Regions from separate parts of the Homo sapiens genome. Here all the other regions are linked to region 3. Evidence: promoter capture Hi-C in 16 types of primary human blood cells and fetal thymus (Javierre and others, 2016). All regions are on one chromosome and are shown on one strand. Each heading gives the region's core, a stretch centred on a gene start or on the middle of the fragment in contact. The rest is flanking DNA. Distances are from core to core; before and after follow the strand shown. Region 1 overlaps ANO9 (anoctamin 9). Region 2 overlaps PTDSS2 (phosphatidylserine synthase 2). Region 3 holds the start of SIRT3 (sirtuin 3). Region 4 has its middle 6.8 kb from the start of PKP3.

Region 1 (3,451 bases), core at 392-2,891, 200 kb after region 3:
AATCAACCCTTCCTCTGACTCCCTCCTTGGCCTTCCCGACAGCCCACGGACAGATACCTGCACTCAGGCGTGGCCTGCCACACTGAAACTTCTCCCCCGTCCTGGGTTAGAGGAGAAACCTTCATCCTCCGACAGATATGCAGGAAGGGGCGTGGCACCTGCCCAGGCAGGAGAGGCACCTCTGTCTCAGCGCAGAGGGCAGCCTCCCTGGGGGGGACTGGTGGTCTGGGGGACGTGGGCATCACGGCTCCAGCTCTGCAGCTTGCCTCCGTAGGGGCCCGGGAAGTGTTGTGTTGGAGGGATTCATGGGAGAATGGCCCCTCACATGCCTGGCTTCAGACCCAGGATGAGGGTCCCTCCTCTGCCCAGAACCCCAGCTCCTCTGGCAGAGGCTGAAATTAGAGACCCCCTCACATCAGCCTGGGCCGAAAGTTGAAAGCCGGCAGGATAAGCCCAGACCCCTGAGAAGGAAGGGACGAGGCAGGGACCCCAGACCAGGCAGGACTTTCGGAGAAGCCTGGGAGAGGGGACTGTCCCTGGGGAACATTCTCAAAGGTGGGGGTGGGAAGCCATCGTTCACCCCAGAAATGAGGCACAGAAACCCCCTCCCCACCAAAGACACCGTGCAGCACTGGGGTGATGACCCCACGCCTCTGCAAACAGCAGGATCAGCCTCCCCTGGGGAATGGGGTGCAAAGCCCCCATCACTGACGTGGGCTGACAGGGAGCCCTCCCCCCAGGGCAGAGCTACACGCACACCTGGGGCGTGCCAGCCCCTGGCTGCCCTTAGCTGCTCCCTCGGACAAGGCAGAAGCACTAGGGCTGCCAGGTGTAGCCCCCGCCGACACACACAGCCAGACAGGTGGAGTCCCCCCAACACACACAGCCAGACAGGTGTAGCCCCCCCCCGACTCACACAGCCAGATAGGTGTAGCCCCCCTGACACACACAGCCAGACAGGTGTAGCCACCCCCTGACACACACAGCCAGGCAGGTGTAGCCCCCCCAACACACACAGCCAGACAGGCCTCAGGCTCCGAGACTCTGCTGCAGAACACTGGGCCCACCAGCCTCCAGGACCGGGCCGTCCATCTGTCCATCCGTCTCCAGGGCCAGTGTTTACGGAGCCACACCCACCGGCCCATCCCCCGGGCCACAGCCACCAGCCTACAGGACCAGGCCATCCATCTGTCCATCCGTCTCCAGGGCCAGTGTTTACGGACCACGGGAGCCTGGCTTCTCCACACCACCCTCGGGGTCTTCACAGGTGAGGGCTGGACCACCTGAAGTCACCTCCACTTCCAGCCATGCAGACTGTTCGGTTTATCCACAGTGAGATGTCTGGGACCCCCATGTCCCCAGTCCATGGGCCCCACCTCCGGGAAACTATGTATGGGCCCACAGGCTTCCAGCTCCCAGGGTAGGGACAGGGGCTGTCCCTACACACTCAGTCTGAGGGCCTCTGAAGCTTCAGCCAGCCTTGCCATCTGCAAACCCAGAGAGGGAGGCCGGCTCTGGGTGGACAGCCGGCCAGGCCCTAGCTCTGACGCCACCGAAACACCCCAGGCCTCAGTTTCCTCGTCTGTACAACAGGGTGTCCTCACCCCAGCCCCCAGGTCACCTCAGCGACGTGCAGACACAGGAAGAAGGTGGACAGAACCACACACTGTTCTCCCCCATCCTTCCTGTCCCACAGCCCTCACAGGTGACACACCCAGTACTCCAGGGCCCCAGGGAGTTTGTGGGGGGCTCTTGGCACCCCCATTGTGGGCATAGGCCAGCGTCCAGTGGGCAAGCCCCTGGTTCCCAGTGAGGAAGCTTCTGGAGACACTGTAGCCTGCAGGAGACCCTCCCTCCCAAGGGCTGGAGTGTGAGGACAGAGCTGGGGGTCCTGCCCATCCATCCTCTTCCCAGTCCAGCCTCCAGGTTGGGGGCAGGCAGAGGAGATGGTTGTGCAGATATGACCCCACCCTACTCCTGAGAGGCCTGGCCAGGGGGTCCCATGACGCACATCCCCCCAGCTGTGCATGAGAAGGAGCAGGCCTGGCCAGGGGGTCCCACGACGCACATCCCCCCAGCTGTGCATGGGAAGGTGTTTGGGCCTCATCTCCTCCTGAGGTCACGTCAAGCCTCTTGGCCGGTGCCCTGAGCCCTCTGGGATCTGGCCCTTGAGAACTTTACAGTTTCGTCATCCACAGAGGGTCCCCTTCTGCCCCACCGCAGTCCCAAGCATGGAGAGGCCCACCTTGTGAGCCACAGCGTCTCGCCTCTGCCCAGCCCACGCATCCTCTGAGCAAACCCTCCCCAGCTGGCTCTGCGCTCCTGAAGCCAGTCTTCTGCCCACCCCCCGGCCCCTCCAGCTGTCCAGTCTGTCATCTGTCAGTTCACCCATCCGTGTGCCCGTCCATCCCCAGACACTGACGGAGCGACCTGCGTGCAGCCCTCCCAGGCAGTGCGTGGCGTTCGTGGACGCAGGGGCGGGGGCCTACTTGGCAGGTGAGGAGGCATGGAGCTTGGCATTGTAGGGCAAGAGGTTGGCAAAAGGTGAGAAAATGGGGGCAGCATTCCCGGGAGAAAGAACATGTGTGGGCACGCCCTGAGAATCAGGGTGCAGTTGGTGTCTGGGACTCAGCAGTCAGCACCTCCCAGGGACTCAGCACTCAGCACCTCCAAGGAGGACTTGGTAGCTACTACTCCTGGTGACTCAGCACTCGGCACCTACGGAAACTGAGTCCAGGGACTCAGTCCTTGGTACTTCAGCTTTGCAGAAGCATAAAGGGCAAGAAGGGAGCTGCCAGAAGGGGAGGCTGGAGGTTGGCAGAGGCCAATCAGGGGAGGCTGCTAGGCTTCTTGGCCAAATGGAGAGCTTGGACTTCAGCAGGGGGCAGTGGGGAGCCATGGAAGGGGTTAGAGCAGAGGAAAGGCACGCCCAGATCCAGCCTGGAGCTGGGACTAGCAAGTCCTCCCCATGTCTGCAACTGTCCTTTTTGATCACCACAGGAGTTTTGACCTGCTCCGTTTCCGACCTGGACCGGTTCACCCCTCCTTAGGCAACTTGGTGGTCCCCTGCTCCTGGGAGGTCACCATACTGATGTGCGGACAGCCAGTCAGCCTAACACACTACAGCCCAGAACTCCCAGGCTCGAGCAACCCTCCTGCCTCAGCCTCCGGAGTAGCTGGGACCGCAGGCTCATGCCACCACGCCCGGGTTCCAGCAGTCCTCCTGCCTCAGCCTCCCGAGTAGCTGGGAGCGCAGGCACGCGCCACCACGCCCGGGTTCGAGCAGTCCTCCTGCCTCAGCCTCCTGAGTAGCTGAGACTGCAGGTGCATGCCACGACGCCCGGGTTCAAGCAATCCTCTTGCCTCAGCTTCCGGAGTAGCCGGGACCACAGGCATGCGCCACCAGGCCCGGCTGCAACTGTCTTTTTTGAAGGACTGATGCTCTCACTTC
Region 2 (3,335 bases), core at 127-2,626, 220 kb after region 3:
CCTGTTGGGTCCTCTTCATTCCCATTTCTGCTTCCCCAGGGCCAGGAGGGTGCTGGGCACTCGGTGGCCACCTCAATGACAGTGTGCACATTTACCTGAAGGGGCGAAGGGTTACCTTTATATTTCAGGTAATCTCTGTGTTTTGGGGAAATGGAAAGATGGTGTTGGGTTAGGGTTGATCAATGATCAGCGTTTCCCTGGGCTACACAAGGAGTGAGTGTTGGGTTGGTGGCCACTTTAGAAACCACAGGAAGGTCTCTGTCGTGGAAAGTCGTATTAAAGGAGTCAAGTTTTACGCCTGTAATCCCAGCACTTTGGGAGGCCGAGGCAGGTGGATCACGAGGTCAGGAGTTTAAGACCAGCCTGGCCAATATGGTGAAACCCGGTCTCTACTAAAAATACAAAAATTAGCTGGGTGTGGTGGCGGGCGCCTGTAATCCCAGCTGCTTGGGAGGCTGAGGCAGGAGAATCGCTTGAACCTGGGAGGCAGAGATCGCGCCAGTGTCCTCCAGCCTGGGTGACAGAGCAAGACTCCATCTCAAAAAGAAAAAAAGAAGTCAAGTTTCAATTTTAACTTGTGTTAGTGTGTGATCCTGTCTTTGTGTGCTGTGGAACTTGGTGCTGGTGGGACACAGGCTGCTCACCCCATCCCTTGAGCTTTGCGTTTATTCCTGGGATTCTGCATGTGAATGGGAGCCTGTGCTGTATCTGGGAGATGCTGACTGGGTTGCAGGCACGTCCGAGGGTCAGGGTGGGGCCGAGTGCAGCCTCCTCCTCCAGTGGGCCTGTGTGTGGAGTGGTGGCATTCTGGGTGTCCCTGAGGCCTGGTCGTTTCCATCTTCTTCCTGAGCCCACATGGAGATGACGAGGGGTTTCCTGCTGGTCTCTTGCAGAACAGGGTTGAGTGGTGTCCTCACGTTGATCTAGCTTCTGGGTCTCCCATTCTGCATGTGAGCAGGTTGATGGGCTGTTGTCTCTTCCACGGTTAGCCTCCCTTAGGCTGGGGCTCCTTCACCCCTCTTTTCTTAGAGACATTACTGCCCAGAGTGAGAACCCCTCACGTGGGGTGGCCGTGTGGTTCCAAGACAGGGTCCTGTGGAGGCCCTGTTAGCTTCCCCACTGGAGGCCTCCCTCACAGCAGGCTCCTGTCCCGGCATCTGCACTCCAGCCAGGCAGAGTCCTGCTCCCGTGCACACCACACCCTGTCTGTCTGTGCTGTGGGCCCTTGGCGGGGTTCTGGGTGTCTGGAGCCCCTTGACCTTGTTCCTCCTACAAGGTGACCTCGTCAGGAAGCCCCAGGATGAGACTGTCCCTGGCTCCTCCAAAGGTCACTTCAGACATGTGCACCCTTTGGAGAGGTCCCTGCTGTTTCTCAGAACTGCTGGGGATGGAGGCTGAGCCCGAGAGTGCTTGCTCCTCGCGCTCCCTTCTTGCTATGGTCTCCGGAGATGCCTCCCAGGCCACGAGCCCTCCTGGCGTGGTTTTACTGGGACCTGGCTTTGCAACAAAAATAGTTGTTTTAACCTCCCTAACCACTCCCATCCCTCTTTTGTTTTTCTCTATAACGTGTAGGGTTTCTTAGCTCTCCTGTATTGGTCTCACTCCACTGGAAGGAAGGCTCAGGAACGCAGGCTGTGTCTTCTCCCGGGTGTGGCTGGGGCGGGGGCTCAGGGAATGGCTGTGATGGCCCAGTGTCCAGGAGGCTCCGGGCCCCACCCCCCGCCTTGCTGCATGACCTTCACAGTGTCACTTACCGGCCCTGACTTGCCTGCGGGCACCACGCACACGGCATGAAGGTGCCCTGGCCCGGGGCACGGACACAGCCAGAGCCACCGCGCTCCTGGCTGTCATCACGTCGTTGGCTTTGCGATCTAAACCTGCTTGTTGTTTTGGTTTTTCTTTCTTTCTGTTTTCTTTCATTCTTTTTTTTTTTTTTTTTTTTGAGACAGAATCTCACTCTGTCACCCAGGCTGGAGTGCAGGGATGTGATCTCAGCTTACTGCGGTCCCCGACTCCTGGGCCGAAGTAATCTCCCCTCACCCTCCCTCTTCCCAAGTAGCTGGGACCAGACATGCGCCACCACATCCAGTTAATTTTTTTTTTTTTTTGGTAGAAATAGGGTCTCACTATGTTTCCCGAGCTGGTCTCCAACTCCTGGGCTCAAGTGATCCTCCTGCCTCAGCCTCCCAAAGCTCTGGAATTACAGGTGTGAGCCACGGTACCTGCCCCCAAACACTCCTGACTCTTCTTATCCTAACCGGGGTCATCTTACTCTCCTCACCGAAATCTGATGTCACCTGTATGGAGGAAAGGGTGGGCCTCATGGAGGGGCAGGCCAGGGACAAGGGGACTCCTGGGCCCCAGCTGAGCCCAGCCCGTTTCCCCTCAAGGGCTGTCTCCAGGAGGACACGTTCTGTAAGTGTAGTGTTCAGCAGAGGGTGAGTTTCTGGGTCGCCGAATCCAGGCACCCTTAGGAATGGGGGCCTAAGAGGGCCTTCTGACGTGGGTTCTCTGCTGTGATTGTGGGCAGGTCTCTCAGTACTGAAGGGCCCCACGGTGTGGAGCTCAGCAGGAAGGCTGAGGTTCCCTGCGGTTTCCTCATGGCTTAGGACTCAAATGCAAATGTATCTAAAGAAAAAGGTGGTTGATAGTCACAATGAAACTTTTATTTACCTCTGGTTGTCTTAAATGCCTAGTATTGTAAAATATGGCAGAAGAATTCACTTTCATGCCTGTAATCCCAACACTTTGGGAGGCCAAGGTGGGCAGATCCCTTGAGTTCATGAGTTTGAGACCAGCCTGGAAAACATGGCAAGACCCCGTCTCTACAAAAAATACAAAAAAATCCAACCTGACCCACATGGCAAGACCCCATCTGCACAAAAAATACAGAAAGTTCCAGCCTGGAGCCTCCACCTGCAGTCCTGCAGCTCCACCCTGGCTCTTCATGAAATCGGCTAAGTCCAGGTGTGGGTGCGTTCAGTGCAGCACCCACGTGCAGGTGACACGCCCATGCACCGCCACAACCACGCTCACACCAGAACATTCCATCATCCGGAAGGCCCGTGTCTCCGCTCCAGTCTGCTTTTCGTGGATGCAAACTCATTTCCTTGAGTCGTGTGTGGGTGACAGCAGATGGGAGGTTTCTTTTGTGCCTGGCGTCTGTAGCGTGTTTTTCTTTTTCTTTTTTTATCTTTTGAGACGGGATCTCACGATGTTCATGATGTTGCCCCGGCTGGTCTTGAGCTCCTGGCCCAAAACAGTCCTCCTGCCTGGGCCTCCCAAGGGGCGTGTCTTTGAGATCTATCCACGTTGAGGTCGTTGCCAGCAGCACA
Region 3 (3,164 bases), core at 177-2,676:
CGCCCGGGCTGGAGTGCAATGGTGCCATCTCGGCTCACTGCAACCTCTGCCTTCCGGGTTCAAGTGATTCTCCTGCCTCCGCCTCCTGAGTAGCTAGGATTACAGGCGCCCGCCACCACGCCCGGCTAATTTTTGTAATTTCAGTAGAAATGGGGTTTCACCATGTTGGCCCAGCTGGTCTCGAACTCCTGACCTCGTTATCCACCCGTCTCATCCTCCCAAAGTGCTGGGATTACAGGCGTGAGCTACCGCGCCCGGCCAACTCTTCAGGATCTATTAAACTTTTTTCTTTTTTTTTTCCCACAGGTAGATAAGAGTCTTGCTCTGTCACCCAGGCTGGAGTGCAGTGGCTCAATCATAGCTCACTGCAGCCTTGAACTCCTGGACTCAAGGGATCCTCTTGCCTTAGTCTCAGGAGTAACTGGGACAACAGGCTTGCGCCACCATGCCCGGCTAATTTTTAAATTTTTGGTAGAGATGGGGGTCTCGTTATGTTGCCCAGGCTGCTCTTGAACTCCTGGCCTCGAGCGATCCCCGTCTCAGCCTCCGAAAGTGCTGGTATTACAAGTGTGAGCTACCACTTCGAGACTCACTTTTCACCAACATTTTCAGCAGTTGTGTCAGACAGCAAGTCAATGTGCCATTATTTACTTAAATATTCATCCATTATAGGGCATCTGATACCTAACAACCATGGACCTTAAGATTTTTTCCTATGTAGCCTCAGTTCTTAGATGCAATTACTATGGAGACGGGTACGATCACATGCCAGTGGGAGTATTAACCGCACAACATTTATGAGGGATCATTAAAGCGTTAAATGCATATACTTTTGGACCTAGCAATCCCAGTACTAGGAATTTATGCAAACAGTGAGGTGCCAACAAGGTTATTCACCACAGCATGATGCACAATAACTAAAGGTTAGAACGTATTTCAATGAGGGAATGGTGAAATAAACGACAAAACCCCCATAAGTGACGTCCACAGATCAGCATAAAGACGGAGGCCCCGGTGTTGGAACGCACGTAAACTCCCAGACATGCCGCAAAGGAAACACGGCAAGGTGAGAAAGAGTGGGCGAGGTGTCGACAACGAACACGCAAGAAGTGCTTGTCCTTGCCCAAAATACCTCGAAAAGAAGAAACTGGGAGCTGCTGCCCTCGGCTGCCTCCGGAATGCCCTGGGCACCTCGGGTCTGGGAGGCCTCTGCAAGGGGCGCGCCGGGTCCAAGGGCTCACCGCGGGCCCCATGGCTGCCTCTCAGCCCCGCACTCACATCGTCCCTGCCGCCAAGCACCAGCCGACAGCCGCAGGCCTGAAACGGCCCCACGCCTCCCCCGGCCTCGACCCGTTCAACTACCCGGCCCCACAGCCGGAGGGCTGCCGCGGCGCGCCAACCCCAGAACGCCATGTTCCGCGCAGTCCAAGGAGTCCTCCGGACTCGCCCCGCCCCCGGCGCCCCGGCCCCGCCTCCGCCTCCCACCCCCGCCCCCGGCGCCCCAGCCCCGCCTCCGCCTACCGCCCCCGCCCCCGGCGCCCCGGTCCCGCCTCCGCGCCCCGCCCCCGCCTCCTTGCCGACGCCTCCGGCGCGCCCAGGTAGACGTAGAGGCGAGTAGAGGAAGTTCCCTAGTCTGGTGTCTCATCTCTCGCCCCGGAGGTCAAACCTGGAGCCAGCATTTCTGTACCCTGCGCTCACACCTTTTTCAACCCGGATGGCGGTGATAGTTAATACTTTCTGAGCGCTTTTACTATGGTCAGGCATTATATTTACACCTAATCCTCGCAAAACACTACTGGGAAGATCCTCATTTGACAGGAGCAATTCCGGGTCACAAAGGCTGACACCACAAAGCTAGTCCGTAGCGGGTTCGACCACAGGCGCCCACACTCTTTGACGCCTCAATGGCACAGCCAAGTGCGCGGGAAGTGGGCTGCAAACGCCGGAGAGTTTTGTCCGGAGCGCAGAGACGCGCTGTAACCGAGCAACCAGCGGGGCCCGCCCCCGGCCTGCTACGGCGCTCCCAGCCTGCCCCGCGCCGCTCGGCGCCGGAAGTGAGTGAGCATTTCCGGCAGCCATCCCCGCGGTGCTGACATCCCGGTTGTTCTTCTGTGCCGGGGGTCTTCCTGCTGTCATGAAGGACGTACCGGGCTTCCTACAGCAGAGCCAGAACTCCGGGCCCGGGCAGCCCGCTGTGTGGCACCGTCTGGAGGAGCTCTACACGAAGAAGTGAGCGCCGAGCAGACGGGCCCTGGGCCCCGGCGATAGAGGGAGACGGAGGGGGCAGGCGGGCGGAGGAGCGGACCCTTGATGGGCTGAGGGCGCCCAGACCCAAGTTGGGGGGAAACGGGGACGTGTAGCGACCGGCTGTGCCGGCAAGGTTTGCTGAGGAACCTTGAGTGGCAGGGTCGAGGAATAAGAGGGATGACAGACCACGAGGGCCAAGAGCTGTAGCCAGGATGTTTCGGTCTGAGATTCACTGCTTCCTTAACGGGGGACTGAGACTGAGGCTTCTGAACTCCTACCTCGGGTCTTACTAAAACGGTTCAGGAGTAGCCTTTGATTTTAGCTCTTGATTCCATCTAACAAGCAAACACACTTTCAGGGCCACCACCCACTTTGGGAAACATGTTGGTGATTCGTGCTTAGCCTTGTCATAGTGTAACTGTATCTACAGTTATCTTTCTCATGGTCTGGAGTTGATAAACCAGAGGCTAGTACAGCTTTGCTGTTTTCCCTATTCATTCTGCAGCTGGTTGCACGGGGTGCAACCACTTCCGCCGTCCCATTGTCTTTACCTTCCATTGTATTTCTCATGGGCTTTCTGCCCCTAGAAAGATCTTAAAGTTTAGGTTTGTTTAGAAACAGGATGAATTGCAGAGCAATTAAATTCTTGCTAAGCACTAACCTCCTTTTAATATGAGTAGAATAAATTGCTGGCATTGGGCTGGAGCTATTCCATAGAAAATACATCTCCTGTAGTAACCTCCCTGTTAACCCTAGCATTTAATATAATACCTTTCACATAGATGTTCCATACATGTTTTGATGATGTTTAGCATTCAGCAGCCTTCTGCTATTAGCAGTTTTTGAGAGCAAATTAATGTTTGGCAAATAATGGTTTGTGTTGGATAGCACTTGGTAATTTTCAAAGCATTTTATCT
Region 4 (3,213 bases), core at 705-3,204, 150 kb after region 3:
ATTTGTGCAGGGTTGGCAGGGCGGGAGCACCACGGGGGCAGCTGCAGCCAGCCAGGTTGCTGCTGTGTGGACCCAGGCCTCCTGGTGGTCTTGGGGGCCAGGGAGGACCCCCTAACACCACAGGCTTGGGGGTGTCCCTGCTCCTGGCGCCCACTCTGATCTTGGAGTGGGGTCGGGGCCAAGCCCGGGTGTTGTTGCAGCCCAGCCGGGTGTGCACCCTCAGAGCAGTGCCGAGATGCCAGTCCCCTGCCACCTCAGCCCCTCCAGACTTTGGGCACCAATGAGTGTGGGAGGGAGGCCAAGATGGAGCTGGGGGCAGCTCAGTGCTGGCCTGTGGGCACCCCTTGGCACGAGCGGCCTGGGCACCATGGGCGGCAGTGGGAGGCAGACAGGCTCCTGGGAGGGAATGGGCAGGTCCCTGGTGAGGCTCCACCTTCAAGCCAGGGTGGGCCTGAAGGCTGGGGGCCAGGCTGACAGTCCTGAGGACCACAGTGGGGACTTGTGGTGCCTTTTCCGGGCCCACCCATGGCTGCCCATGCACCAGTTGGCATGAATTTCCTCCCCTCTGAGGCCCATAAAAGCCCTGGGTTCAGCCAGAGTGGAGAAGAGGACAGAGAGACGACGGGATGACCAGCTGCAGAAAGGAGCTACCCTCACTAGGGCCTCCTCTTTGCTGAGCATTGCAGGCCTTGGGTCAACCAACTGCAGAGAGGAGTTACCCTCTCTGCTGATAGCTGCAGGCATTGGGTCGACCAACTGCAGAGAGGAGCTGCCCTCTCTGCTGAGAGCTGAACACTCGTTGGGACGACCTTCCTGCAGAGAGGAGCCACTCACTCCCAGCCTCCTCTCTGCTGAGAGCCTCTGAGCCGTTCTGACACTTAATAAAGCTCCTCTTCGTCTTGCTCACCCTCCACTTGTCTGTGTACCTCATTCTTCCTGGACACAGGACAAGAACTCAGGCAAAGGTGCTCCTGGCCACAGAGGTTTCTGGCCAGAAAAGCAACACCCCAAATATCCCACAACATGTTTGGGGGCTCGTCTGGGATCTGCACAAGGGTAAGTAAAAGTGGATCTTCTCTTTCTGTCCTTTCTTCGTGGTCCTTAAACTCAACAGCTAAAATGAAAGAAAAATACCAGGCCTCTGTCAATTAGTTAAAAGTGACGACTAGTCTCCAAGCACCAGACTCAACACATGGAGGCCAGGCTTGCTGGGGAGGACACTGTCAAGCCCCCATCACCCTCAGGTATTGGGAATGTTGGCTTTGTTCCAACCCAGTTTTCCTTCATGGAGGTCTAGCTGTCACGTGGGACCAGAAGGAGGTCCTAGAGCAACTGGGGGTATTTGGCTGAGGTTACCCCTTGGAGTTATCCAAAGGCCCCTGGACTGACTCCAGTCCCCAGCCTCCCATGAGGGTGTTGGCACAAAGACCTCCACTCTTTCCTATCATTCTTTTCTGTCTTTCTTTTGTGGCTGTCATGGTTCCTATCTCTTCTTTATGTACAATGTTAAATGTTAAGGATGTTGTTGCAAACCAGAAATATTACTGGGTAGAATGAGCATTTGACTGAGTCATCAAAACTATAAAATGGAAGGTTAAGAATAGCACAGACGAAGTAAAGTGTGCCTTGGTATCTGTATGTAAATTTGTGGCAAAAATGTTCTTGTTATTTCCTTGGCCGCCAACTTGGTGCCAAGCACCTTGAGACCCAGAAAAGAAGCATGGTCTCAGGAAGGAAGCTTTTCTGTAAACGTGAGACCCAGAAGAGAAGCATGGTCTCAGGAAGGAAGCTTTTCTGTAAGTGTAAGACACAGAAGGGAAGCATGGTCTTGGGAGGAAGCTTTTCTGTAAATGTGAGGGCCAGTGATCCCAGGCCTCGTGTGTGCAGGCTTTCTTTGCCTTGCAGGGTAACTTGGACCTTTGCCTCTACTGTAGGATTGATCCAGCCCTCCTGGTGGCCATCTCAGGAGAGGCTGCAAGAGGCAATCCCAGGGAAATAGAGAAGCAAACCCCAGAGGCACCTCCAGTGGAGGAATCAAACCCTTCACTCCTCCCTACTCAGGTTCTCTCTCAAGCTTTCCCCAGCCTAGAAATCCTCATTTTAGGCCATTCTGAGTCAAATTAAGGGGGATCTTGGCAAGTTTTCAGATGGCCCTGACAGATACATGGAGGCTTTCCAGAACTTAACCCAAGTATTTGAGCTCTCCTGGAAGGATATCATGTTACTTCTGAATCAAACCCTGACTGCTGAAAAGCAGGCCACCCCGCAAGCGGCAGAGAATTTGGGGGATGAGCTGTATATCTTATATAGGGCCAGGGAAGAAGAGAAGCTTTATCCAATTGGATGAATAGCAGTACCATTGGAGGACCCTAAATGGGACCCCAGTGATAAAATGGGAGAATGGAGGATGAAACACTTTCAGATGTGATACTGGAGGGCTTGTGAGGGAATGGGACTGGGCTTCTCATTGCACTTGGCTGGAGGGCTTATGAGAGAAAGGGGCTGGGCCTCTTGATTGCACCAGGCTGTCCATGGTAGAGCAGGGATTGGCCCCACTGCCTTCCTGGGGGATGGCAGGGGCCTTGGTGAAGTGTGCCTCTCTGTCTCCTGACTCAGTCAATGAACGGCTGGTCCTAGGGGATGAGGAGATGAGTTCATTGCACAGGCGGCCCCTGATGTCAGAAGGAGGATGCGGGAATGGGCTGTGGGACCAGATGGTACTTTGGGGGCATCCTGGGAGGGGCCACCTCAGTTTTTTCCAGTGGGAACCGGGAGGAAGTCCAGAAAAGAGAGAGGAGATATAGGAAGAAGGCAAAGGCTCTTAACAGCTGCCCTGTGGGCTCATGGACCCCAGGATCCCTAGATACACCTGTGACTGCTGCAAATGTGTTGGGCTAGGGCCCCACAGGAGGGTTTCCAGACAGTGCAGGGAGGAGGGTCCTTCATGAGGGTTTCCACACAGTGCAGGGAGGAGGGTCCTTCAGGAGGGTTTCCACACAGTGCAGGGAGGAGGGTCCTTCAGGAGGGTTTCCACACAGTGCAGGGAGGAGGGTCCTTCAGGAGGCTTTCCAGACAGTCCTGGGAGGAGGGTCCTTCAGGAGGGGCTTTCCAGACAGTGCAGGGAGGAGGGTCCTTCAGGAGGGGCTTTCCAGACAGTGCAGGGAGGCCACCTTGACCCTGTCCAGTTTGCCTTGGGGACTGTAGGGTCCAGCC

What was found. The method cuts DNA at HindIII sites, captures the fragments that hold promoters and counts their contacts. A CHiCAGO score of 5 or more calls a contact.
Region 1: a fragment that was not itself captured here is called in contact with the fragment with the promoter of SIRT3 in region 3 in 1 of 17 cell types (naive CD8 T cells); the score reaches 5.0 in naive CD8 T cells.
Region 2: a contact is called between a fragment that was not itself captured here and the fragment with the promoter of SIRT3 in region 3, in 8 of 17 cell types (naive CD8 T cells, naive CD4 T cells, total CD4 T cells and 5 more). The highest score is 8.1, in naive CD8 T cells.
Region 4: a fragment that was not itself captured here is called in contact with the fragment with the promoter of SIRT3 in region 3 in 3 of 17 cell types (naive CD8 T cells, naive B cells and total CD8 T cells); the score reaches 5.6 in naive CD8 T cells.

What each region holds. Positions count from the first base shown.
Region 1 is chr11:437,485-440,935 of GRCh38, forward strand. All of the region lies in intron 1 of ANO9 (anoctamin 9), which reads right to left. LOC105376506 (a long non-coding RNA gene) reads left to right here. Exons shown (of 5, transcript XR_007062542.1): 3 at 1-1,267; 4 at 2,415-2,496; 5 at 3,001-3,189. It also overlaps the pseudogene RN7SL838P. Among named protein-coding and RNA genes, the nearest start is that of ANO9, 2.8 kb to the right of the region's middle. The HindIII fragment of the contact is 350 bases long and covers 1,467-1,816 here.
Region 2 is chr11:454,249-457,583 of GRCh38, forward strand. All of the region lies in intron 1 of PTDSS2 (phosphatidylserine synthase 2), which reads left to right. Among named protein-coding and RNA genes, the nearest start is that of PTDSS2, 5.6 kb to the left of the region's middle. RefSeq lists an enhancer at 679-1,400. The HindIII fragment of the contact is 6,661 bases long and covers 1-3,335 here.
Region 3 is chr11:234,916-238,079 of GRCh38, forward strand. SIRT3 (sirtuin 3) reads right to left here and starts at 1,427. Exons shown (of 7, transcript NM_012239.6): 1 at 1,133-1,427. The coding sequence starts at 1,413. It overlaps PSMD13 (proteasome 26S subunit, non-ATPase 13), which reads left to right and starts at 2,061. Exons shown (of 13, transcript NM_002817.4): 1 at 2,061-2,229. The coding sequence starts at 2,135. RefSeq lists a silencer at 1,493-1,572 and enhancers at 1,723-1,912, 2,073-2,312. The HindIII fragment of the contact is 9,250 bases long and covers 1-3,164 here.
Region 4 is chr11:385,805-389,017 of GRCh38, forward strand. No RefSeq gene overlaps it. Among named protein-coding and RNA genes, the nearest start is that of PKP3, 6.8 kb to the right of the region's middle. The HindIII fragment of the contact is 235 bases long and covers 1,838-2,072 here.